Linked DNA regions of Homo sapiens: region 1 is linked to region 2. Evidence: promoter capture Hi-C in human tissues and cell types (Jung and others, 2019). All regions are on one chromosome and are shown on one strand. The core of a region is centred on a gene start or on the middle of the fragment in contact, and the rest is flanking DNA. Distances in the headings are between cores, read along the strand shown.

What was found. The method cuts DNA at HindIII sites, captures the fragments that hold promoters and counts their contacts. A contact is called where the count stands out against the background at its distance.
Region 1: a contact is called between a fragment that was not itself captured here and the fragment with the promoter of PTK7 in region 2, in 2 of the 25 tissues and cell types used here (adrenal gland and pancreas).

The regions. Positions count from the first base shown.
Region 1 is chr6:43,196,616-43,203,348 of GRCh38, reverse strand. It overlaps CUL9 (cullin 9), which reads right to left. Exons shown (of 41, transcript NM_015089.4): 11 at 6,487-6,704; 12 at 4,494-4,740; 13 at 3,978-4,083; 14 at 3,193-3,420; 15 at 2,823-2,913; 16 at 2,515-2,686; 17 at 528-633; 18 at 145-240. Among named protein-coding and RNA genes, the nearest start is that of CUL9, 18 kb to the right of the region's middle. RefSeq lists a silencer at 2,152-2,352. The HindIII fragment of the contact is 5,147 bases long and covers 1,883-6,733 here.
Region 2 is chr6:43,074,335-43,081,705 of GRCh38, reverse strand. It overlaps PTK7 (protein tyrosine kinase 7 (inactive)), which reads right to left and starts at 5,392. Exons shown (of 20, transcript NM_002821.5): 1 at 5,139-5,392. The coding sequence starts at 5,217. KLC4 (kinesin light chain 4) reads right to left here. Exons shown (of 16, transcript NM_201521.3): 16 at 6,613-7,084. The coding sequence ends at 7,034. KLC4-AS1 (KLC4 antisense RNA 1) reads left to right here and starts at 5,476. Exons shown (of 2, transcript XR_002956347.1): 1 at 5,476-6,011; 2 at 6,439-7,371. RefSeq lists silencers at 1-201, 5,305-5,404 and an enhancer at 5,734-6,257. The HindIII fragment of the contact is 20,814 bases long and covers 1-7,371 here.

The DNA of each region.
Region 1 (6,733 bases), core at 3,207-5,706, 120 kb before region 2:
TCCTGCCCTGAGCTCCCTAGAACTGCTCAGGACATCCCCACATCTCTGGGACTCAACAGGTCCTGGGCCATCTCCCAAGCAGATCAAGGAGAAACTTGTGTGCCACCTCCTCCTCCTCAGCCCTGGCTGACACCCTAACACCACCTGCTGGCAGCGCTTTATGCGGATCTGGATGATGGGCCAGAAGCGGTTCAGGTTCTCCAAGAGGATCACCCGGCTGGCAGAGGGCATCACATTCACCTGGTAGGGCAGGGGAGAAGAGGGAGAGAACTGTCACCTCCAGAAACAAGGTTGGAAAAATTGTTGACAGTAACCAAGTCGGTCATGGTGTGTGCCCTTCACTTCTCCCGCAGAGCCTAGGGATGGACGTGGCTCTGCATCCCTAATCCCACTCTCACTGCTTACAAGGCAACACCTTCCCAAGGGGAAGGGATGTCACCATTCCCCAGGGACTAGGTCCTTCCCACAGGCACTGGGACAAAAAGAAGGATGTGGAGCAAGGTGAAGGTGGGCACAAGGGTCCCCACCGTGTTGAGCTCAGTGCCGATGCAGCTGGTGCTGTCACCCCCAAACACCACCACCCTGGCTGGCATGTAGCTTGAGTCCTCACTGGCCACCAGCAAAGTGAGCTGCCTGGGAAAGAAGAAAGGAAACAGTCAAAGCTGGGCCTCTGGACGTGGTGGCTCACATCTGTAATCCCAACACTTTGGGAGGCTGAGGTGGGAGGATCGCTTGAGGCTAGTTTAAGATCAACCTGGGCAACACTGCAAGACCCCACCTCTACGAAATAAAAATCAAAAGAAGGAAATAAAAAGGCCAGAGCCCTGGTTTCAGTTCAAAACTATTTCAAGCCACCACTTCTTTCTCAGGCTCCTGTTCCTCTGCTGGCTCCTGAGGCAGCTGTCCCCACTAGACCCTCTGCTCTTCCCTCTATATTCACCCAAAGTGACTTAATTTAAACCCACAGTTTCAACTGAAAATTAATACACAGAGGACTCCAAATACACATCTCTATCCCAGACCACTCTCCTGAGCTTTCATGCTGTGTCCCCAACAGGTATTTCCATGTCATGTCCCACAGGCACCTCAGAGTCATCATGCCCAAATGAAATGATCATCTGTCCACATAAACCTGTCCCGCTTCCTGTTTCTCTCCTGGGAAATAAAACTTCCGTGCACTCAGTACTCAACTAGAATACTGTCACTGAGGCCTTCACCTTCTCATGGCTTCCCTCACCCAAAGGCAAGTCTTGTGGACTCCATCTCTGAGGATTTCCCAGTCAGTTCCCACTCCTGCTGTCTAACTGAACACATGGATCCTTTCTCTACTAGAGCACTGCATACACCTTCCACCTCCTTCTTCTACCTCCAGCGCAAACTCCCATAGTTGCCAGAGTGAGCTTTCTCAATAAAAAATCTAGTTTTCTCTCCTCCCTTCTTAAAATCTTCCAATGGCTCTCCCAACTTTTGGAATAAAGTTCAAACTGCTTAGCTCACAAAACATTTTGTGATCTGCCTTTGCCTACTTTTCTGGCCTGTATCTTCCGCCACTTAGACATACACAGCTTTCGGCCGGGCGCAGTGGTTCACGCCTGTAATCCCAGCACTTTGGGAGGCCAAGGCGGGCGGATCACGAGGTCAGGAGATCGAGACCATCCTGACTAACACGGTGAAACCCCGTCTCTACTAAAAATACAAAAAATTAGCCAGGCGTGGTGGCAGGCGCCTGTAGTCCCAGCTACTCGGGAGGCTGAGACAGGAGAATGGGGTGAACCCGGGAGGCAGAAGTTGCAGTGAGCTGAGATCACACCACTGTACTCCAGCCTGGGCGGCAGAGCGAGACTCCATCTCAAAAAATATAAAAAAATAAAAATAAAGATATACACAGCTTTCAATTGTAACCAAATATGATGACTTAAAGTCCCTCCAAATATACTTTCTTACTTCCATTTTGCACATATGCTGTCCTTATGCCTAGAATATTGCCCCCTCTTTATCTACCTAATTTCAATGTCAAAACCCAGCTCAGTCACCCCCTCCTTCCAGAAGGAAGTCTGCTCTCATGCCTGTCAGTCTCAGGTCCACATGTGGACCACAATGCTTTTTCTTACTCTGTGCTCTTACTTGATTTTCTAGTGTAGCTCCCCAGCTGGAATGTAGGTACCATATCTTATTGTCCTTCTATTTCGAGACCCTTGCACAGTGCCTGACACAAATGCCTGGCATTAAGCAAATGCCCAAAGGAGAAATGGATAAGTGAGCTGTTTATCTCCCTCAACACTAAGCACAGGGCAGTGCCATCTGTACCTGTTGGAGTACAGATCACCAGACTCTGGGAGTGAGGGGATGTCTATACTCAGCAAAGGCAGGTCAATGTGTCTATGTGTTCACTGCACAAAATAGGTTTGAGTGTGTCCCTCAGGCATTGGGGTTATAGCTGGGGTTGTGTGTATCTGGGTGCTTTGGGGAAGTATCCTGGGGCACAGCAGAACATTCATATATGTGTGTTCACACCTAACAAGAACACCACGGTGCATGTGCAGGGTGATGTAGTGGGAGCCGGTGCTGCCGTTGGACTCCCAGTAGGTCTTGGGGTTGTGGTCCGTCAGCTTGCTGGCTCGGTGCGGGTTGGAGGACACCTCCACCTTCTCCCAGCACTTGTCCTCCTTCACTTCCACACTGGAGCCTGGGGGCAAGTGGGAAGGGGTGGCAGTCACAGCTAGGTTAGTTGAGAGGAAAAAGGAAAAGGTCTAAGGAGCAGGAAGGGAAGGGGAGAACAGACACTGGATGGGAGCCAGGAGAAAGCAGATGAGGGCACTAACCCTGGCAGAGATGCCTGAGGAACACATCAAAGAAGGGGATATTGATGGGTTGGTGGGTTCGTCTGTGGTCTTCGATCTGGCCCAGCACCATCTGCAGCCGGAACATCAGGGAGAATGAGGAAGAGGAGAGGGAGGAACACAGAGAAATGCCCAGAAACAGGTAGAGAGAAAAAGTCAAGGGTCAACGGTATACTCAACTCCTCTCTCCCCACATTTTGACAGAACCATGTGGAGTCAAGGTTAGGAAACAAGTGCCCCAGATTTGCTACAACCTGTGCCAAACAGGGATACCAAAGAGGAACACAGTGAATCCCCTTCTCCTGCTTCTGACTTGCATTCTCTCAGCTGCATACCCACAGCCGCTCCTCACCTGAATGCAGCCGGCCAGGATGCTGGAGGTGAGGTTGCTATAGAGCTGTGCGTACTTCTCACACTCTGTCACCAGGTCCCGAAGCTCACAGCCCAGCAGCAGCTGAGCTGAGTGCTTGTCCAGGACTTTGGAGAGGATCTCTTTTGCTCCCAGGCAGCAGAGCACCACAGCATAGTCCTTATGCATCGAGGCCAGGCGATGTAGGAAGCAGGTCAGCTCCTGAACAATCTGAGCCCAGAGCCACATAGATTAATTTACAGGAAACAAGAGGTAGGACATGTAAGGATTGAGGAGAGGGTTCAGTAAAGGAAGTGTCGTGGCTGAGATTGTGGAGACATGCCAACGCCCAGGGAAACAAGAGTACCAAATTCAGGGTGGAGTAAAATAGAGGAGTGCTGGGACTCCAGAGTGAGTTGGCAGAACAGAGCTTGGGCACAGCTTTCCAGGCTGCTTCCTGCCCAGGCCAAGCTATGTTAACCCTGGTGCCTGAGCCTTGCTCTCCAATGCACAAACCCGGAAGGGAGGACAGCTGTCTGGATTGGTGAATGTGGGCTTCTCCTTAGTCCAGAATCTAAACTCCAAATCTAAAATCATCTAAAAGGTTTATACTTCAAAGATTCCAGTTCTGGAGATTCTTAGATTACATTACCCTTCCTCCTCCTACACCCATCCCAGTGCCCCAAGATCCATTCAGAAAGGCTCTGCTGTGCCCTCCAGAGCCTCACAAGGAGTTGGTGCCCCAGATGCTGCCCTTCCCTCTCTTCTCCTTGCCAGGGTTCTGGTACCTCGGAGTCACTGCTAGGGCCACTCAGGCAGTTGAGGCAGGGCTCCAAGACCTCGTGCCAGGGGAGGACCATTGCCTCAGGGAAATCCAGCAGTCGGGTTATGACCCTGGTGAGGGGGTAGAAACGAGTGAAGTCAGGCCAGGCACAGTGGCTCATGCCTGTAATCCCAGCACTTTGGGAGGCCGAAGTGGGCGGATCACCTGAGGTCGGGAGTTCGAGACCAGCCTGACCAAAATGGAGAAACCCCATCTCTACTAAAAATACAAAATTAGCTGGGCATGGTGGCACATGCCTGCAATCCCAGCTACTCGGGAGGCTGAGGCAGGAGAACCACTTGAACCTGGGAGGTAGAGGTTGCAGTGAGCTGAGATCGTGCCATTGCACTCCAGCCTGGGCAACAAGAGTGAAACTCCAACTCAAAAAAAAAAAAAAGAAAACAGAAAAGAAACAAGTGAAGTCCCTGAAGTCTGCCAGTTTCCCTCGTCCCAATGCATGGTGCCTCAACAGGCCCCTCACCTCAGCACAGACAGCAGCAGAGTCTTGTTGGGCCCCGGAGCATCCAGAGTCCGCAGCAACAGGAGGAAAGGCTGGGTCTCCTGCTGGAGGCGCTTGAGGAGGGGCCTCACGGCACCTCCGGGGCTGCCCTCACGGCACAGCACACGCTCCAAGTCCAGGAGTAGTTCTGCAGATGGGCCCCCAACCAGGGATCGAATCAGTAGCTCAGGGGACCCATCCTGACCCTGGATGATGGGGGTCTCTAGTGCTGCAGCCAGACACACCAGAGGGAAAAATGTGGATGAAGAGTCTTACCAGTTTGTCAAACTGAGAACTGGGAAGGTCCAGAAAATCACCCCAAAATTTTCCTTCTATATTGAGGATGTCTATAGTTTTTAACCAAACTATGAGGGGTTTTCTTTCCTGACCCCAAATACAAACCTAATCAGATTTGAAAAAAAAACCTAGTATAGCAAACACTGTCGAGTTAAACACAAGACATTTTAAATCTCTTATAGTCCTATTATTAAATGTTAGTTATAGTAAATATTAACTATGATGATTATATCCCTGTACTACCTGCATGGTGGCTTTAGGTACACAGACTAAAAGATACATACATATTTCCTATTTTGTAGGAATACACAGAGCGCTGTCACCCAGGCTGGAGTGCAGTGGCATGATCTTGGCTCACTGTGACCTCCAACTCCTGGGCTCAAGTGATTCTCCTGCCTCAGCCTCCCAAGTAGCTGGGATTACAAGCACCTACCACCGTGCCCGGCTAATTTTTGTATTTTTAGTAAAGATGCGGTTTCACCATGTTGGCCGGGCTGGTCTCAAACTGCTGACCTCAAGTGATCTGCCTGCCTCAGCCTCCCAAAGTGCTGGGATTAAAGGCATGAGCTATTGCACCTGGCCACGTATTTCCTATTTCAATATCCCTCCACACTTCTAGGTTTTCACTTGTTTTTCAATCACAAAGGGTTTCTTCCCCAGTATCAATATCTAATGTTTCCAGGCACAAGTGTTCTGTACCATAAATTATAATTTCTCTTAAGAAGGCCTCCCTATTCTGTGAAGAGAAAGTTAAGCTTAGGCCAGGCACAGTGGCTCACGCCTCTAATCCCAGCACTTTGGGAGGCCAAGGCGGTCAGATCACGAGGTCAGGAGTTCAAAACCGGCCTGACCAACATGGTGAAACCCTGTCTCTACTAAATATACAAAAATTAGCTGGGTGTGGTGGTGCGCACCTGTAATCCCAGCTACTCAGGAGGCTGAGGCAGGAGAATTCCTTGAACCCGGGAGGCGGAGCTTGCAGTGAGCAGAGATCGTGCAACTGCATTCCAGCCTGGGCGACAGAGTGAGACTCCACCTCCAAAAAAAAACCAGTTAAGCTTAAAACAAAAAAAGAGAAAGGCTTCCCTAGATGTCATTTCAATGAGTCTTCTACTGTCCAATAATACTGGGCCAAACCTAGCCCAGATGGATATGAATCCACATATGTTTAAAGCCATTCAAGAAGGCAATTTCCAGCCAGGTGCAGTGGCTCACACCTGCAATCCCAGCACTTTGGGAGGCCGAGGCAGTGGATCTCCTGAGGTCAGGAGTTCCAGATCAGCCTGGCCAACATGGTGAAACCCTGTCTCTACTAAAAATACAAAAATTAGCCCGCTGTGGTGGCAGGTGCCTATAATCCCAGCTACACAGGAGGCTGAGGCATGAGAATTGCTTGAACCCAGGAAGCAGAGGTTACAGTGAGTCGAGATCGTGCCACTGCACTCTAGCCTGGGAAACAAGAGCAAAACTCCATCTCAAAAAAAAAAAAATGCAATTTCCTTGCACATATTCCACAGTCTCCCTCTTCTTGGTCGGGAAGTTCTACTTAAGACCTAACTTGAGCACAATGCTTGCTCATTTCCTGAAGTTTCCTTGTATCTTTCCAGTAAGGAGCTGATATGTAAACCTGGCTGGCACTGTGTGATTCCTCTGCAAAACCACCCCTCCACAATGGTACCTGCACGCTCAGGGCTGCCCGGCGGCTCTGAGTAGCGATTGAGAAGCATCATGAGGATGGTGCGTGTGGTAGGCATAGGTTCTGTTCTTGGTGCTATCCCTGAGTGCCTAAACAACGTGTCTCTCAGCTCTTGGGTTATAATCTGGTCTCCCAGAGTGTGGTGGTTGCACAAAAGTAGGTTGAGCAGGAGTAAGCCATTTCTCGCTGCAGAAGAGCACCTGGGAGGAGGGAGGTGACCAGGAAGAAA
Region 2 (7,371 bases), core at 4,143-6,642:
CGGCTGGGTGCAGTGGCTCACGCCTGTAATCCCAGCACTTTGGGAGGCTGAAGTGGGCAGATCACCTGAGGTCAGGAGTTCGAGACCAGCCTGGCCAACATGGGGAAACCCCGTCTCTATTAAAAATACAAAAATTAGCTGGGTGCAGTGGCACACACCTGTAAACCCAGGTACTCAGGAGGCTGAGGTAGGAGAATCACTTGAACCTGGGAGGTAGAGGTTGCAGTGAACCAAGATCGTGCCAATGCCTCCAGCCTGGGAGACACAGGCAGACTCCATTTCAAAAAAAACAAAAACAAACAAACAACAAACAAAAAAACCACCTACATAAGAACCCATTATAAATAAGTACTGTACTAAACTCTATGGGAGAGCCCCTCAGTAAATTAAAACAAAACCCAATAGGGGCAAAAATATGGATGGTGTCGCAAGAATGACAGTCCAGAAGTTCTACAGTGTCTACCTTCTGGCAGGAGAGATAGGACAGCTTCAGGGAAGAAGAGGCGGTGGGGCTGGGCAACAGAGAGACAGGAGAAGGCAATGTACAACCGGGGACTGGCCCGAAGGAAAGAAAGGTGGGAGAAAACCAGATATGTGTTAGGAGATGGCAAATATTCCAGCTGGACTGGAATGGAGGGTCCCAGTAGGTAAAATGTCTATTGTTGGGAATGACTGTAAAGCTGAAGGAATCTTTGAAGCACACCACAGAGGGAAGACCAAGAAAGGGCTGTGTGTGTGTGTGTGTGTGTGTATTTTTTTTTTTTGAGACGGAGTCTCGTTCCGTCGCCCAGGCTGGAGTGCAGCGGCGCGATCTCGGCTCACTGCAACCTCCACCTCCCGGGTTCAAGTGATTCTCCTGCCTCAGCCTCCTGAGTAGATGGGATTAGAGGTGTGTGCCACCACACCCAGCTAATTTTTGTATTCTTAGTAGAGACGGGGCTTCACCATGTTGTCCAGGCTGGTCTTGAACTCCTGACCTCAGGTGATCCGCCTGCCTTGGCCTCCCAAAGTGCTGGGATTACAGATGTGAGCCACTGCACCCGGCCTACTTCATTATACTTAATCCTCAGCACAACTCTAGGATGTCCCTTTATAGAAGAGGCTGAGAAGCTAAGAGGTTCATCCAGGGCCACAGGGCCTGCCAATGAGTCTGAGTTGCTGCTTTGCCAGATATACTCCTTATCCCTGGGCTCCACATCCCTCAACAGAGGATCAAAAACACTGGGGGAAGATAAAAATTAAAAACAATACAACAATAAAAAAGAATACAAATTAAAGAATACAACAGTTATTTACATAGCATTTCCATTGTAATAGGTATTACAAGTAATTTACAGATTTTTTTGTTTTTTTTGAGACAGAGTCTCGCTCTGACACCCAGGCTGGAGTGCAGTGGTGCAATCTCGGCTCACTGCAAGCTCTGCCTCCCGGGTTCACGCCATTCTCCTGCCTCAGCCTCCCAAGTAGCTGGGACTACAGGCGCCTGCCACCACGCCTGGCTAATTTTTTGTATTTTTAGTAGAGATGGGGTTTCACCATGTTAGCCAGGATGGTCTCGCTCTCCTAACCTCATGATCCGCCCACCTCAGCCTCCCAAAGTGCTGGGATTACAGGCGTGAGCCACTGCATCCTGCCCTTTTTTTTTTTTTTTTTTTTGAACTCTGTCACCCAGACCGAAGTGCAGTGACACAATCATGGCTTACTGTAGCCTCAACCTGCTGGGCTCAGGCAATACTCCCACCTCAGTCTCCTGGGCAGCTGGGACCACAGGCACGTGCCACCATGCCTGGCAATTTTTTTTTTTTTTTTGTACAGGTGGAGGTCTCATTGTGTTGCCAAGGCTGGTCTTGAGCCCCTGGGCTCAAGCGATCCTCCTCCCTCTGCCTCCCAAAGTGGTGGGATAACAGGCGTAAACCTGGCCCTTAGAGATGATTTAAAGTATACAGGAGAAGCTGGGCATAGTGGATCATGCCTGTAATCCTCATACTTTAGAGCACTGAGGCAGGAAGACTGCTTGAGCCCAGGAATTTGAGGCTTCAGTGAGCCAAGATTGTGCCACTGCACTCTAGCCTGGGTGATAGAGGAGACCCTGTCTCATAACAAAACAAAACAAAAGTATACAGGGAAGTTGTGTGTACGTTATATGTAAATACGACACCATTTTATATAAGAGACTTGAGCACCCTTGGATTTTTTTTTTTTTTTGAGACGGAGTCTCGCTCTGTCACCCAAGCTGGAGTGCAGTGGCACGATCTCGGCACGATCTCGCCCAAGCTGGAGTGCAGTGGCACGATCACTGCAAGCTCCACCTCCCGGGTTCAGGCCATTCTCCTGTCTCAGCCTCCCGAGTAGCTGGGACTACGGGCACCCGCCACCACGCCTGGCTAATTTTTTGTATTTTTAGTAGAGACAGGGTTTCACCGTGTTAGCCAGGATGGTCTCAATCTCCTGACCTCATGATCCGCCCGCCTCGGCCTCCCAAAGTGCTGGGATTACAGGCGTGAGCCACCAGGCCTGGCCGCACCCTTGGATTTTGTTATTCTCAGGGAGTCCTATTCCAATTCCCTGCAGATGCCAAGGAAGGACCATACTTTATCTCCATTGCTTGAGCTCTGTCCACCACTCAATGCTGCTCTGAACACCAGGAGTTTGAGTATATCATTTGACAAGTGACAAGAAGAGCACCCTTGCCCTGCCACCATACTTCCCAACAGCTGAGAAAAGCCATCACTAATAAAAGCAACTCCTAGGCCTGAATTACAGGCTGCAGAGCCTTGAGGAATCTGCAGACAGCCTATCCCAGAACATGACGACTCAATTTCCCCAAAGAAACAAGAGCCCGGAGGAAAGAAACCAGGGAGGGGGATGGGAATTGGAATGAGAAGTGACCACAGCTGACTGTACAAGAGGTTGGGGTTAAGAATCCATAGTTTCAAACATCAAGCCTCCTCCTCCTCCACCATATTTATTACAACAGCATCTCAAAGTTTGGAAAGTAACTCTGCCATTTATGGCATAATTACCCAGACTTTAAAATGGTCTAATCCACAAACCTAGCCAGCCTAGGTTCCTTACTCCAGCCTTATTAACAGTGGGATCTCACTACAACTCCAGTTAATTACACAATTAAACAATGAGATGCAAACATCTACTGTGATCTATTAAAAAACCGTTGCCCCTGAAGTCATGCGTCTGGGGGTGGGTTGAGTCCCAGGATTTCACTAGAAGACAGCAGGCGCCTCGGCCTCCACTGAAATTGTTTACAGCACATGGACAGGTTCCACAACAAGGCACATTTGGTGGAATTGATTTAAGGCTCTCATTAAAATGTTCCTTTGTTGAGCACAAGACATCCCCCCACCCCTGAGGAGACTACAGACCTCCTGTCCTAAGCCCTCAGCCTGCCCTAACTTCCCCCAACAGGATCCCCCACACACACGCGCGCACACACACTAAACACCAACCAGTCACCAGATTAAGTCAATTAACATCAGAGTCATCTTCTCATGGAAGGAATTTAGGAATTCAGCATTTGTTGAGCAAGAGCCCCATCTTCACCAGAAACTCCCCTTGACTCTAGTACCCTGAACAGCAGCAGTGAAGGCAGCCTCATTGGGCAGACCCACACACCAAAACCCAACCAGGACAGCCAGGGGGCCTGTGAGCTTGGGCTGCTCGCCCAGATGGCTGGGCCCCCATCCTGGCTGTGCAAAAAAACTTCCATACTTCCTCTGGGAGCAGATGTGGATTCTGCCACGAGCAATAACCACCACACACATCACAAGAAAAACGGGGCAACTCCAGAAACACCTCCTCCAAATCCCTGGAGATTGGTCTCTTTCCTGGGTTACATTTACCTCTCCTTTTACAACTGGGGGCAGGGGAGATGTTGATTCCACCAGCACCAAAACCCCTCCACAGCTGGCAGGCCAGAAAGATATTAGAAAGGCAATTCCTTACCCATGCCCTTCCCATTGCCACCTTCAAAGGAGATGGAAGGTGATCACCTAGGACAGGTCTCCTCGACAGAGCTCCCCAAGAGAAAGCTGCTTCGAGGACCACCAAGGAGTGTTGTGGAGGGTCGGGGGCTTTATTTCCAGTCCGGGCTATTTGGGATGTGCGGGTGGCTTGGTGCTTTCCTGTAAGGCACTTCAACACCTCAGTGATGACTCTTAGGTGTGACCAAGCCAGGAAATAAAAGCTGCGGGAGTTGGGGGGGCGGTGCTGTCTGCCCTGGTGATGAGGGCCACACCCTCGTTAAAATGCTAAGGCCCCCCCCCAAGAAAAGCCAGAATGAGCTCTTTTTGCCTTTCTTCCCTTAGAAATACTTCCTTTCCTCTGTGAGGACAGTCAGGATGGAAATCCAGGAAGGAGCAGAACAAACCCCGTCCGCACCTTTGCAGCCAGGCCATGCCCGATTTTGGCAGCGGCCTTCACACATTAGTCACCGCGACAGCCTGGGACCCTCGGATCCCCGGATTCGGCCCTGGCACGGAGTGGGCGCAGGGTTCCAGACCAGTAGCTAGAGGCCATGGATGGGGGCGGCCCCTAACTCTTCCCTTCTTCCGCCCTCACCCGCAGGGCCATCTGGGGTCTCAGCTTTGCCCAGGAACTCGGAGGAGGGAAGCCGGGAACGTCGGGTCGGCGTAGGTAACAAAGCTCCGCGCTTTGCGCGCCGCAGGTCTGTCCGGCATCGGGCCCCAAACCAGCAACTCTTACCTGGGCCGACCCTGCCGGGTGGGGTGGGGAATTCCTTTTTCTCCATCGCGCTCCCCACGGTGGGTGCGGATGGTCTTTTCTCCCCCGACAAGAAACTCCCCATCTGGGCCCGAGAGCCAGCAACTCTCGGCAGTTCTCGAGCAAACTCTCGGCTCAGACCAGAAAAACTCAGGGAGGCTGGAAATGCGTCCCCGCGGCGCGAGTGGGAGGGGTACCCTGACCGCGTCCCTGGAGGCTTCGCCAGCCTCCCGACACCCGGGCTCCTTGCGCCCTTCCGCCGCAAGCCTGCACCCCCAGCGAGCCTCTCCACTACTCCAGGGCCGTTCCAGCCGCCCAAACCCACCGCCCCGGGCGCAGCCTTTTGCCCACGGGACTCCCGCGCTTCCCAAGCTCTGTGCCCCCAACTCTCGGGTACTCACCGCCCAGCAGCGGCAGCAGCAGGACGCTGAGCAGAGGCAACCGGCGGGGTCTGGCCGGGGATCCCCGCGCAGCTCCCATCGCGGCGGGCTCAGGAAAAGGAGCTGAGGGCGCACGGCGGGCGCGCAGACTGCGCTCCGCGGCGGGCACAGGAGGCGGAGCGCACCGGAGCGCGGGCGCCGCAGCAGCAGCCGCAGCCGGAGCCCGACCCCGAGGCGTCCCGAGGCGTCCCGAGCCGGAGCCGCGCGCGCCCAGTACCTCCGAGTCCCCGCGCGCCGCCGCCGCCGCCGCCAAGCCCCGCCCCACGACGCCCCCTCCCCTCCGGCCCCCGCACGGCGCCCCGCCCCCTCGACGCCCCCTCCTCGCCGAGGCGGGGAGGAGCTCAGTAGGGGGAGGGGTCTGGAGAGGGATGGAGAATAGAGAGAGCAAGGCTCAGGGAAGTGCAGGGGACCTGAGTATTTGCTGTACCCACCACCGACTCTGCAGGGATCCGGGAGAACCTAAGTGACTTGTGCGATTCCGTGGACCCTGGGGAGAATGGTCCATTCTGGGCATACCTGGAGGCTCTGGCCAACAGTTCCCCCAGAATTCTCCAGGTGGGGGCAGGGGAAGAGGCGGGCCCCGCCAACTCTTCAGCAACCCAAAATCTTAACGGCAGACCCAGAACAGCAGGGTGTCCTTAATGTCCCCAAGTAACCTGAAGATGCTGTGTAGCCCGGAGAGGGGCTGAAGTGTGCATGACTGGGGTCTGGTTTGGCTGTAGACCAATCTGAACCCAAAGGTAGAAACACGCTGGGCTCTGAAAGCCAGGCTGAAGTCTGCTAACTGACAAATTCATCCCAAGTCCATCTCCAGGCAGTCTGGGCTGTGTCAGGGTATGGCCAAGTCTCCAGCTGTGGGGAGGCCCAGCACAACCCTTGTTCCAGGCACCCCCACCCCCAGCGCCACCACCCCCACATTCTTTCTTTGTTGTGAAAGCAGCAAGGGGTGTAGGAGGCGGGTCAGGAGGAGTCAAGCTTTAGAAGATGGGCCCCAGCTGCTGCTCAGGCCTCCAAGATATGCTGAGAGGGGATGGATAGTGCCTTGTCTCCCCTCTGGTTCCGGAGGGCCCCCCAGGCCTGTTTAGACCTCCCTTCCCCCAAGCAGCTGGGAGGAGGAATGGCAGCCACAGAGGGCCTCACAGCCAGGAGAAGTGGCGCCAGGACTCCAGGGTCCTGCCACATGGCCACCACATGTCCCTGACAACCCAGTCCACAGCACCTTCTCCTTGGGTTGTGAGCCTCCTTCTTCCCCATCCCCCAGATGCCTTCCTACAGGCCCTGCTGGAGATGATACAAACAACGGGAGGAAGAGAGGAGAGATCCAAGAATCAACACTCCTCCTGCTGCTCCATCCATCACTGCCCCTCACCTTCTGTGAAGGGCCCCAACACAAGCCCTGCTTCATACCCTCTTCAATCAGGACTCAAGTCACAGAAAGGTTACCTGATTCTTTTATTTAAGAAAAGTGAAATACATGGACCTGAAGTGAGACAGCAGAGGGAGGGAGTAAGAGCGGCCAGGGCAAGGCAGCTTGGCTGGCCAGCCCCCAACCCTCTGACTGAAAAGCCAGCAGCAGGCTGCATCTCTGAGGGCCATACCTGCTTTGTACCCACCTTGGGGCCTCAGAGCTAGCTACTCTAGAGGACCACAGGGTGCAGAGAGGGTGTCCTGAGGGTCCTTCCTAAGAGGGATTCCTGAGGAGGGAGCTGAGACCCTAAGGGCAGCAGCAATCTTCTGGTTAAACTGCTCCCCTTCACTGTCCCACCTAGGGGTGGGGAAGAGCCAGGAGCAATGGGGAATGCTGTGAGGGCTGTGGGGGTGGGGGGACCCAGCAGACCTGGGGGCCGGGTTGAATGTCAGCTGCTTGAAGAGAGGTCCATGGTGCTGGCACTGAGGCCCCGGGAGACCTGAAACAGACAACACTACCCCATCAGCTCAGGGACCTCGGCCTCCCAAAGACTGGCTCCTAGAGTCCATCCATCCCATGGTCACAGTGTATCTCTGGACCTAGGATCACATCTGTCTCTGGACCAGTCTATCTCTGGACCTGGGACTTTGTTTAGCCTCTGCTAGGGTTTTCCAGAAGGCCACAATCTGGTGGAGAAGCTACCTGGAAGAACCACATGAATACTGGCATATACTTGTGTGTTGATACAAGAAGTCATTTGCCATTAAAATATCACTAGTGTTTTCT